Regions from separate parts of the Homo sapiens genome. Here region 1 is linked to region 2. Evidence: promoter capture Hi-C in 16 types of primary human blood cells and fetal thymus (Javierre and others, 2016). All regions are on one chromosome and are shown on one strand. Each heading gives the region's core, a stretch centred on a gene start or on the middle of the fragment in contact. The rest is flanking DNA. Distances are from core to core; before and after follow the strand shown.

The links. The method cuts DNA at HindIII sites, captures the fragments that hold promoters and counts their contacts. A CHiCAGO score of 5 or more calls a contact.
Region 1: a contact is called between the fragment with the promoter of ADAMTS12 here and the fragment with the promoter of SLC45A2 in region 2, in 8 of 17 cell types (total CD4 T cells, naive CD8 T cells, neutrophils and 5 more). The highest score is 7.3, in total CD4 T cells.

Annotation. Positions count from the first base shown.
Region 1 is chr5:33,888,511-33,895,228 of GRCh38, forward strand. It overlaps ADAMTS12 (ADAM metallopeptidase with thrombospondin type 1 motif 12), which reads right to left and starts at 3,480. Exons shown (of 24, transcript NM_030955.4): 1 at 3,220-3,480. The coding sequence starts at 3,346. RefSeq lists enhancers at 2,762-3,263, 3,264-3,763. The HindIII fragment of the contact is 2,849 bases long and covers 1,499-4,347 here.
Region 2 is chr5:33,981,432-33,987,458 of GRCh38, forward strand. SLC45A2 (solute carrier family 45 member 2) reads right to left here and starts at 3,262. Exons shown (of 7, transcript NM_016180.5): 1 at 2,768-3,262; 2 at 805-981. The coding sequence starts at 3,152. AMACR (alpha-methylacyl-CoA racemase) reads right to left here. Exons shown (of 5, transcript NM_014324.6): 5 at 4,734-6,027. It overlaps C1QTNF3-AMACR (C1QTNF3-AMACR readthrough (NMD candidate)), which reads right to left. Exons shown (of 9, transcript NR_037951.1): 9 at 5,555-6,027. The HindIII fragment of the contact is 8,753 bases long and covers 1-5,915 here.

The DNA.
Region 1 (6,718 bases), core at 2,230-4,729, 93 kb before region 2:
GAAATCCTTTCCTCCTTGCAGAATTTTTTTAATAGAATACATAAATAATTAAAACTCTTATCTGAAAACACTGCAACATTCCCTCTGTTTCTTGCACAAGCCTGGAGTTCATCTCTAATATGGAATAAAGTGACTGTCCTGTTGATTTCACAGAGATGTCAGGAGCAAAAGAGGTCATGGAACAGACTGGCGCTTTGTAAACAGCATAGGGGTAAACAAACCTAAGGGGATATGATTGGCTGTAGAAGACACGCAGCATGTTGTGTGCAAGATTAATATTTCCCGTTGTTCTGATACTTGGTTGTGAACCAAGAAATCCTGTGTAAGTCACAGCACATTCCTATATCACAACTGAGCAATGTGGAAAGAATACTGGGCAGTTAGTCAAATAGCCTGTTTCTATGTTTCTAGTCCCAGAAAGGACTGGATTTATCTCCATACTCCTTCCAACGACTAAAATCCTGACTTAGCCCAACTCTTAGAACTAGAAGGAACCTAAAAGGTAATGTAGTGTCTGAATCTGTCTCCAAATGTGGAACCCTGTGCAATTCCCTTTACCCTCCTCGTGAAGGGGCATTTATTAGGTGCTCAATCATATATGTTGACTAACTGATGCCCTAGACCTCCCATTCCTTATCCATAAAAGTAAAAATGGGGGCGAGGCATGATGGCTCATTCCTGTAATCGCAGCATTTGGGGAGGCTGAAGTGGGAGAATTGCTTAAGGCCAGGAGTTCAAGATCAGTCTGGACAACATAGCTAGACCTCATCTCTATTAAAAAAAAAATTAAATATTTCAAAAATAAGAATGGGTGAGATGATCCTGAAGTAATTTGCAAGTTTAAACGTTCAGGATTTGAATGCATTCAAAAATGCTATCAAAGTGGAAATGGAAGTCTAAGGAGATTGGTTATTTGTGAGGCTGTAGGTAGGTCATTTGGAGGGAAAAACCCAGGCCATCCTAATCCCAGATAGCCTTAGAATTTCATTCTCTACTGGTTTGCCCTCATCCATCCCTTCCTCCCTCTTTGTGACTTTCCTTCTTAATTCTAAATGTAAGTCTGCTTAGAAATTTCTCCTTTGCACCAAATGTGGATTATTTGTAAATCCACTAGGGAATTGATTGTGGTTGGTGAAATGCTTTTAAAAACTGAAATTATTGGCTGGGTACAGTAGTTCACACCTGTAATCCCAGCACTTTAAGAGGCCAAGGTGGGCAGATCACCTGAGGTCAGGAGTTGGAGACAGCCTGGCCAACATGGTGAAACCTCGTCTGTACTAAAAATACAAAAATTAGCCGGGCATGGTGGCACACGTCTGTAATCCCAGGTACTTGGTTGGCTGAGGCAGGAGAATCACTTGAACCCGGGAGGCAGAGGTTGCAGTGAGCTGAGATTGCACCACCGCACTCCAGCCTGAGAGACAGAGCAAGACTCAGCCTCGAAAAACAAAAACCTCTAATTATTTTTAAACCTAAATAAATATATATATCACCAATAAGCTTGGAGCACTTTATAGGTTTTTTGAACAGTGGATACTCTCAGCACATAGCTCTAGATAGAGGTGACTAGGGAAAATAATCATATCTCACTTTCCAGAGAGCAAAAACCATGGCCCCGTGGTGTCTGCTTCACACCAAGCTGAATTCCCTTACAAAGAAGATGTGGAGCAGAGCTGAAAACCAACCCAGGAGAATGTGTGTCTTTGAACGAAATCATCTCCAAATGCCCTGGGAAGTGCTTGCAGGCTTTGTTTGTGCTGCCCCAGAAGGGAGACTTTTCACAAAGGAACTGTTTTTCAAAGAACAACAAGCCCTGCTATTTTAAACTTGGGGGTGGGAGATTGTATCTGGACCGTTTACACAAGTGAGTGCTGGCTGACTGACATCTAACCCCAGTGTTTGCTGGCTCCAGCTTTCCAAGTAAAGCAAAGAGAGGGACTTGCTTCTGATACGTCTTGAAGCCACAGCAGATGAGTTGTCCAGCAATATTTGAATTTTACAACATGAGCAGAAAACCCTGCTTAGAAATCCTAAACAAGGACAGGCTGGTGATGTTTATCACCCGAGTGGCCTTGGGAATTAAAGGGATGTCAGAAAGTCATGGAGGACACTTCCCGAGGCTTCAGCACAGTCAGCAAACACAGGACTTAGTGCATGCTAACCCAGTGCTCTGTGTGCGTGTGCATGCGTGTGGGTGCATATGCGTGTGTGTGTGCGTGTGTGTCCCTATTATTGCTACAGGACAGTGCTGCATGATTCTAAGAGTCAGACTACCTGAGCTGAAAACTCTGCTCTACATTAGCTGGCCTCATAAGCTCTCCAAGCTGCAGCATCCTCATCTGTACAGCAGGGACAGCAACACTGGTACCTGCACCCTGGAAGGCTATTGCCAGTGATCGGATGGGCTGACACAGAGTGCCACGCGGGCCATTGCTGCTGCTAGGACTGTTTACCCCCAGAGGTACAATGAACCCCCCACCAAACATGAAGGTGCCTCTGACCCTTCCAAGTCCAATAAACTGCTGACTGTTAGGCTTAAAAGAATAAAACAACAACAACAAATTGTCCACCAGAACGCTTCCAATGCTTCCTACAATAACATGAGTTCAGAAATTCATAAAGAGAAGCAGCCAGCTGTGGTCAGTGAGACAGGACAGGAAAAAGTGAGCCCTTATGGAGGTATAGTTCCCCCAAAAGGACTATTCTTTCAAAAATACAACCCTAAATCTTTCCAGGAAACCAAAACACAGCCAAGCCTGCTCAGTAGGGGGGAAGAATCACATTTCCCCTTTCCTGACCAGAGGTTTAAAACTAACTAGAAACACTGCAATGACGGCCAGTAGCCAGTTAGCACTTAAAAAAAAAATTTTCCATGTTTAGAGTCTGAAAAATAGGGGATCAAAACAGTACAGCATTCAAAGAGGAGACAAAAGAGAAAAAGTTACCAGCTACCTCTTGGGTCTTTCAAAGACTGCAGTGTCATCCCTGTAAAAGAGTGAGGTACTCACCTTTCTATAAGAATGAAGGACTCATCACCTTAAGCACTGAATTCTGAGAAAGCCTAGGCTCCTGAGGTCCCAGCCCAGATTTCCTTACAACGCAGCCAAATGGCTTTTCAGAGTTCAGTTCTGCCGGGTGGGGGAAGGGAAAGGGGAGCAACAAAATTCCCGCAAGTCTTACCACCACTGTTTTAAAAAGAAATAAAGAAGAGTCACTAACCTTGCCTCCTGTCCGGGAAGCGAACCGGGCCTGGCTGAGGCTGTCTCCCATAGCAAAGCGCCCCAAAGTTAAGGAGCTGAGCCACCACGGAAAGGTTTGCAAGCCAGCTCCTCTGGGCACATGGCATGATTCAGATGTTGAGGAGAAGAAAAGTCAAAAAAGTTTTAGCCCTCAGCTCCAGAAATAAAGCGCTCGCCTGTGGCCCAGCAGGAAGATGCAGGGGTGCATGGTCAGGCGCGAGAAGGCAGCGACTGCAAAGCTGCCCGCGATCTCCCTGTGCTTTTTTAAGCAGAAAGGAGCTAGACACCTTTTTCCCCTCCCTCCTCCTAAAAGGGGAGTGATTCAGCTGACAGTGTCCGCTTTCGGCGGGGTGTGGAATGGGCCAGAGCGGGAGGGCGCAGCCCACCCCGGTCCCCACCCCTCCGCCTCCCGCATGCCCCGCGGCCTCGCAGCCCGCCCGCTCGGTGCATCTTCCTCCCGGACTCCCACCCCCGCGCTCCTCCGGCCCCGCCCCGAACGCCAGGCCCAGCTGGCCGAGCCGGCCAAATAGGGGAGACCCGGGAGAGCCGCCCTGGGAGGCACTGGAGGAAGCTGCGAGTGAGAGGCCCCCAGGCCAGCCCCCCGGCGTGCTTAAATACAAGCTCAAAATGAGGAGAACAGAGTTGAGGCAGAGGGGGGCCCCACTCCCTCCATCCTTCCGCGCTCAGCGCTGCCCCCTCCCCTGCTGTTCTCCTCCAAGTTCCTGAACTTTTCCCAACATCGCTCTATCAAGACTCCTCACCCACTCGGACCGCTCTGGGATTCTCTTCCACTGGAAAAACTAATAGGCGATTTTTCTCTTTGCCAAGTCACACAAAGGGAAATGGGCTGCGCTAATCTGCTAATGTGACCTCAGACAAGCCCCCTCAGCTGTGCAATGAGGTGACTGCTGCAAATGCCTGTGGGCCCCTCTGAGTCTGCAGATCTCTGTGCGGCTCTTCTGATTCTAGAACCCCATCTTTCCTAGCCCACCTCCATTCACTCAAAAGGAAACCAGGAATTAAGTCAACCCAGGAAGGTGTTAAGGTATCTCCCCAGTTTCCCTGAACTGGCTACCCTGGAGAGGGCGTCCATTCATTCAGAGGCTCAAGCTTTTACATCGGTCAGAGAATGCCACAATCCAGGACGCTTGCCAGGCATCTTGAGAATTTACTGGGCTAATCCAGCCAAGATTTTTCACCTCTGAGCTGAAACAGGCCTCCTTACTCCATTCAGGAAGAATTCGGCCCCCAATATTGACTTTTCCCTGGCTGCCAGCCAACCACATGTGTTAATCAAGAGTTCTGGGATACCAGCTTACTCAACCTTGTATAGGGACAGAGCCTCCAAGGCAAACTCAGTGGTCTGAAAGCAAGGTGGTCCTCTCAGATGTGGAACACATGGGCACCAAGACTTTGAGAGGTATATGCTAGTTTCCTATTTTTGGTGTTACAAGTTACCATAAATTCAGTGGCTTGAAACAACTCAAATTTCTTATGTGACAGTTCTGATCTGAAACTGGTCTCACTGGGCTAAAATCAAGGAGTTAGCACAGCTGCATTCATTTCTGAAGACTCTAGGGGAGAATCTGTTGTCTTGCCTTTTCCAACTTCTAGAGGCTGCCTGAATTCCTCAGCTCATGGCCCTCTTCCCCCATCAAAGCTAGCAATGGCCCTTTGAGTCTTTCTCACATCACATCACTCTTCTTCCTCCCTTTTCCACTTATAAGGACCCTTGCGATTACATTAGACTCATCCTGGTTAACCAGGACACTCTCCTAATCAGCTGATTAGCAACCTTAATTCCATCTGCAACCTTAAATCCCCTTTACGTGTAACAGAACATGTTTTGTTGTCACAAGCAAGTAAAAGAACTACTCTGAGCCTTTTTTCTGTTACGTAAACATTAGGAAGCAGGATCACAACTGGAGTTAAAAGACATTCAGATAACACAGGCATGATGACCTGCATTTGCAAGGGCATTGAAGAACAACTTTGGGCTAGAATTCTTTTTGCTTCTTTTCTTTTCTTCCTCTTCCCCTTCTTCTTTGCTTCCCTTCACCCTTTCCTTGTTTCTCTCTCCTCCTTGTACTCTTCTGTCACTCTTCTTCTTCCACCTTTTTTTCTCCTGCTGCTCCTTTTAATAGCAAGCAAGATCTTGTCCAAAGGGCAAGATCACTCCTAGCTCCCAGGTCCTGGAGAAGAGATTTGTCTCTCAGGCAGAAACCTGAAGAACTCTGGAGAACTGCTGAGTTCCACCAATATCAGGGATGATACACTGAACACTCTGGCTTCACAGTTTAGCCTCTTCAACTCTAATGGCATTTCCCTTATTCTTTCTCCCATCTACTCTCAAGACCATAACCAGGAATATCTATTATCCATAAGTCAACCAAGACTGAAATATTAAAATTATAAAATCCCACCAACACTTTGTATTCTGCCAGCCCTTCCAAACCTTTATACCCAGTACCTCGGATCTTCAGCCTAGTAGGAACTTCTAGTTCCTTGATCTCCCCATCTTTGGTTTTCTAATAATCAGCATCTCTCTGGACTCACCACCTTTTTTGCCCAGTCATACCCTTTGATCCACCTCCTTAAACCAGTACATTCAACATCTCATATCTTCCTCATCAAAATCTAACTCTGTTTTACCCTAGCTGCTGATTTTCTCTGCTCTCTGTTTCCAAGTGCTGTTGAAAAAACTCACATAATTGCATCTAATTGTGCAACTATCAATTCATGTCTCCAACTTTAGCACGTTCTCAACATGACTTAGCACAAATATACATTCTGCTACTATTCTAACGTTCCTCCTACTCTTTCCAGAATTTACAAAAATCTCTCCAAAGCTTGGAGTTACCTCAGCGTAGAGAGACTTAATCCTCCTCAACTTTGCTTCTGCTTAATGAGAAAAGGTAACAAATCCCCTTGGTGACCAAGGTTGGTAGCAATAAAAAAGCCAACTACCTCTCCTGCCCACTGTAGATAGCAGAACTGTGAATCACTGCATAGTATCCAAACTACCTCTGAGCTTATACAAACATGCTGCCCTTGAGGAAACACTACAAAACCATGCAAGATTCCAGAGTTGAATGATAGCTAAGAATAGCAAGCATTTATTACATGCTGACTATATGCTTGGCTCTGTGCTAAAGACTATATGGGTATTGCTTTACTTAAACTTCATAAAAAACTTATTATGTGGGTACCATTAGTATCTTCATTTTATAGATGAGGAAACAGACACTGAAAGGTTAAGTAACTTGCCTAGGATTAAGTGGCTGTGAAAGTAAAATCAGGATGAAGCACTAAAGTTCAGAGAAGTTAAAAGATGTAGCAAAACCACTAAGTCAATTCAAATATAGGTCTGTTTTACTTCAGGCCCCTAGTAATGTCCTCATCCACAAAGAGTGAAGAGGATTAGAACACTGACATATAGACATCATCAGAATGCCTTGGGTGGTAGTTTAGTTCATTAT
Region 2 (6,027 bases), core at 2,012-4,511:
GCTGGGCTACAAAGACAATCAAATAAGGTGGGCTGATAGAGTCCCCCTCTTAGATATAAAAATCCTCTTGGGCCAGGATCCTCCTGTCGCCTTATATTTCAATGCCTAGTTCTAGCATAGTCCTAACTGGTGCTCTGAGTAGCATTGCTCTAAACAATTGACCAACAGTAACCAAAGTAGGCTGGCAACAGTCCCAAGAGATCAAGAGAGCTCCCATTTTCCTCCTGGCATGAACTTTTTCAAACCACAAGGTTGAGGAAATGCCAACCTTTTACATAACTAAGAAATTTCTAAGACGTTGAGTTTTTTGTTTGCTTGGTTTGTTTTCTCTTTTTGTTTTTTAAACCTGCCACAAAATCATCTGGGGTCTTTATTAAATAAAATACAAATGTCTGGGCCCCGCCTTAGACTCACTGAATCAGAATAACTGGAGAAGGAGCCCAGGCAACTGTATTTTCAATGACCTTCTAAGGAATGTGGATGCTACATTGCTGATGCTTGAGATCCTCTGCTCTAATGCAAAAGTACAATCCACAAGGCTTCTTTCCATTTCAGTTGTAATTGTCTCCACAAAGCATTCTTAAGAAAGCTCTTCTGTAAACTTCCTTTGCAGAAACTGCAGCACTAGTCACAAGCTGACTGTTCAGAGAAATGCACGGGGAGACAGTGCCCGCATGACGGGAGCAGCCCATCAGCTGACCCGTTCATTCAAAAAACTCCACGTGTAGAGACACTGGATGGCTTTAGTGGAAGTGCCTCATTGTCTGGGGAGCTGAAGGAGAGACTTTCTGGAATATTCCCTACCTGTGAAGAGGGCATGGTAGTGGAGGCCCTTCTCCTTGTCCTGATGGGAGCAGACATCAAATAAGTAGGCTTTGATGGGCCCATCAATGAAGTCGGCAGCAAAATCAAAGAGAACGACACCTATCATGGTGACACTTATGGCCCAAACCAGCTTCCTCCTTGGGTTAGCAATCAAAGCTAAAAGAAAAATAAACATTGGTCTCCTAAATCCTGTTTTAGAATCATCCGCGTTTTGTAATTTCCACCTAAACTTCTTGCCATAAAATCATCTTCCTTGCTTTTATTTTGCTTTTTTCCAAATAAAAATAGCTTTACATTTTTTTTCAGGTTTTAAAAATTATGCAAGCGAATGTCCAGAAAACACAAATCTATGGAGACACAAAGTAAATTAGTGGTTGCTTAGGGCTGGTGCATAGGGGAAAAGTGGACGTGACTATTGATGGTAATGGGTTTATTTTGGGGGTGATGAAAATGTTGTAGAATTAGAGAGTGGTAATGGTTGCACAACATACTAAAGGCACTGAATTGTACACTTTTAATTAGTGAAATTTCTGGTATGTAAAATATCTCCTTAAATAAAAAAGTATGCATGCTTATCGCAAGCAATTCCAATTCTATTAAAAAAGCTGAGGGAGATGCTTCCAATCCCAGCCCCAGCAAAGGTCAGGCTTTAAGGCCTCCTTTTACGCACTTCTGCACATACAGACACACGTGTACAATGGTAGTCAAACGCAGTGCTTCTCAAAGTCTGGCATATTGAACTATCGCTTGTATGTCTTGTTAAAACACAGATTGCTGGCCCCATTTCCCAAGACTCTGATTCAATTGGTGGGCCTGAAGGGGGCCCGAGAAACTGCATCTCTAACGGTCTCTGCTGATGCTGAGGGGCAGGTCAGAGGCCACATCTTTGAACAGCACTGATGCAGTAACCAACTTTCTTCATATAATTTCAGCTCCTCACAATTTTTAACAGCTGGATTTTCATTCTACGGATACGCTGTAATCGTTTACCCAATCTCCTATAAAAGATACATTGTTGTTTCTCTTGTTTCCATTTGCTTTTTAAACTTAAGAATAGCATAGATTATATACACGTTTTAAAAATTGCAGTATAAAATTAAATGAACAATAAGTCTACCCGCCACTTCTCACCTCCTGTCCTTCAGTAATCCTCCTTAGAGTCAACAATGCTTATCAGCTTTTTGTTCATTCTCCTGGAAATATCCTACATTTGTACATTTACGCTTTCTTTCAAATATGTACAAATGATAATTGATTATCCTGCCTCATAATCACCGATTCTGCTAGCTTGAGAGTTAATGATCTACAAATGTGTGCTATTTTTAGCGATCCTTTTTGCAATGCAACTTTATTGTACTACCATCAATTACTGATTAATTGGTAGCTGATTAATGGCTAGAAAAAATGCCTACCCTCAGGTTTGCTTTTGTCCAGAATTTGCAATGCCAGAAAGGTCCTCTTGAGCTGATGGGCTTATGCCCTACGCCTATTAAAACGCTCTACATAAAACTATGAACAGAATTAACTTATTTGGATACACAGGTGACTTATTGTAAATATTTATGGAGCTATTTGGCAGCCAGTCAATTTGATAAGAGTATTAAATAGAGCATAATGGGCTCAAAAAGTAACTCAATTGATAAATATGTAAAAATATTCAATTCGATAAAATAGATACAAATTTAATAAAATAGATACAAATTTAATCCTATTTTTAAATCTTCACAACAATGAAACATATTTATTTTGATATTTCTAGAAGTAGAGGCTCCCCAACCACAGAATCTGGGCCAAATTTGTCAAAGGGGAAGTTCATTGTAACCTAGGAGAGATCAATTCTAACAAATTTCTAGGAAAGGTCAAACACATGAACATCCTCCTCCTGCAGAGGTACACACTAAGACACATATCCCTGTCTGCCCACCTTGTGCAGCCCACTTACCTGCTACAACAGTAGCCCCATTGAGGTACAGAGCCATGCCCACGAGCATCATGACTCCCAGGGTGAGGATGTAGGGTCTCCGGCGGCCCCACCTGGACCGGCAGTGGTCGCTGGCCGATCCGACCACGGGCTGCAGCAGGAATCCCAGGATGGGGCTGAGGAACCACACAATGCTGTACAGGCTGCTGGGCAGACCTACGCTGAGCAGGACTGGGGTCACATACGCTGCCTCCACCGCGTAGCAGAACTCTCTTCCGAACATGGCCATGCTGTGCATGATGAGTCTGCTGGTGGGTCTTTTAGGCGGCTCCACAGAGTCAAAGGGGCCATCATCAGCTAGGGATTTATAGATGTGGCGGCCAGCCTGCCCACTGTTGCTACCCATGGCCACTGGGAGAGGAACCTTCCTGCGAGCCCACCACCTCCTGCGTGGTCCTAGGGTCTGTGTTTCAAACTGGATTTGACGTGGAGCCTGGCCGAGCAACCAACAGAGATGGTCAGGCTGGGGGAGGGGCTCAAATTCTTTCCTGCCTCTAAGATCACAAGTTATGATGAGAGGGAGGGGGTGGTGCTGGAAAGCATGACAGAGATTAGCAGCTGTGAATCAGCCCTCTGGCTCCATAAGACGTTGGAATACTTTTCTAAAGGGATCCTCCTTTGTACTGTTCCCTCTCTCTTTCTCTCTCTCTCACACACACACACAATTACACGTGATCACACACATGGCTTCTCTCCCTCTCACACACACGTTATTACACGTGATCACACACATGGGCTCTCTCAGACAGTATTACACATGATCACACACATGGTTTCTCTCTCACACACACATGCTATTACACATGATCACACACGTGGCTTCTCTCACACACACATTATTACACATGATCACACACATGGCTTCTCTCACACACACGCTATTAAACGTGATCACACCTGGCTTCTCACACACACATGCTATTACACATGATCACACACGGCTTCTCACACACATGCTATTACACATGATCACACACATGGCTTCTCTCACACACATTACACATGATCACACATGGTTTCTCACATACATGCTATTACACATGATCACACACGGCTTCTCTCATGCATGTTATTACACATGATCATACACATGGCTTCTCACACACATGCTATTACACATGATCACACATGGCTTCTCTCACACACATTACACATGGTCACACATGGCTTCTCTCACATGCGTTATTACACATGATCATACATGGCTTCTCTCTCACATGCTATTACACATGATCACACATGGCTTCTCATGCATTTTATTACACATGACCACACACATGGCTTCTCTCACACACGTTATTACACATGGTCACACATGGCTTCTCTCACGTTATTACACATGATCATACATGGCTTCTCTCACACATTATTACACATGACAGCTTCTCTCTCACACACTATTGCACATGATCACACATGGCTTCTCTCACACACACATGCTATTGCACATGATCACACATGGTTTCTCTCTCACACACGTTATTACACAACGATCACACACGGCTTCTCTCTCATACACATTATTACACATGACCACACACATGGCTTTTCTCTCACACACACTATTACACATGATCACACATGGGGCTTTTCTCGTTATTACACATGATCGGACTCATGGCTTCTCTCACACACACATGCTATTACACATGATTGCACACATAGCTTCTCTCTCACACACGTGTTATTACACATCACACACGGCTTCTCACACACGTTATTTTACACGATCACACACATGGCTTCTCTCACACACGTTATTTTACATGATCACACACATGGCTTCTCTCTCACAGACGTTATTACACATAATTACATATGGCTTCTCTCTCTCATACACACATGCTATTACACATGATCACACACATGGCCGTGAGGTAATAAAGCCTTATTACATAGAGTTTGTCAAAATGTAAATAAATTGATATCTTTTCATAAACTTTTTATAAATATAGACATTCTATTTTTTACTACAAGTTTTCCACACACACAGCTCAGGAGTGAAATAACTAGATTTAAAATGGTGGCAGGTCACACCCTTCTTCAAATCATTAGCTGTGTCAGATCGCCCTGATATTTCTCCTCGTGGTACTTAACACATTTTACAATGAGATAATTCTGGGTTTATTCCATATCCTGTGTTTGTCTTTGATTTCCTCAAGAGCGGAGAACAGGTCTGTTTTGTTCATTATGGTATCCCCAGCAAGTATCATGATACCTGGCACCTAGTAGATCCTCAATAAACATTTGCTAAAGGAATTACTGAGTGAATAAACCATACACACTGCATTTTGTGCTGCCTGTCTGCTCAGATCTATTTCCTTTGGTGCTCTTTATCTTATGGGGCTACATTTCCAGGGTTCCCTTGTTTTCTGGCTTCTAGGTAGATTTGGCTAATGGGAGACACTGGTAGGAAGACTAGGGGAGAGAGAGAAGGAAAGAAGCCAGGATATTTCCCTAGATTTCTTTCTTCTCCCTGAGGTATTACTGCCAGTGTCTATGTCTCCAAGGTGGGTGCAGCAACTTTGGCTTCTGGGTCCAAGTACACCAGCTTTCCCATCACCCCTGCAACCATAGGAGTGGTCTTGGCTTCCTAGTTATGTTCCTATCAGGGTTGCCTCACTATCTTCTGGGCTTCTCTGCTCTTTCGTCACCAGTGGAATTCTTTATATTAAATTTCCTCTGTTTTAAAGACTTCGAGTGGGTTATATTTTCCTTGCTGGACCGAGTTCAAATGAAAAGTCTGAGTTGTAGGGAAAACATCTTTTTTATTATTATTATTTTTATTTATTTATTTAGAGACAGGTTCTTGTTCTGTTGCCTGGGCTAGAGTGCAGTGGTGCAATCCTAATTCACTGTGGCCTCAAATTCCTGGGCTCAAGTGATCCTCCTGCCCCACCCTTGAGTAGATAGGACTACAGGCACACACCACCATACCTGGATAATTTTTTTATTTTTATTTCGTAGAAACGGAGGTCCAGCCAAGTTCCCCAGGCTGGTCTCGAACTCTTGGCCTCAAGTGATCCTCCATGCCTGGGCTGGAAAACATAACCTTATGGGAAAGTTCCTAAAAATGGTTGAAGAACAAGACTGAAGGCTAGAATATGAAAGCTTAAATTCTGATTCTGCCCCTTCCTAGTTGCATATTCCTGAGCAAATATTTTCAACTGGTATTTCTAAAACTGTGCCAAGGCACCCAGGGCATTAGAGTGACCTCACAA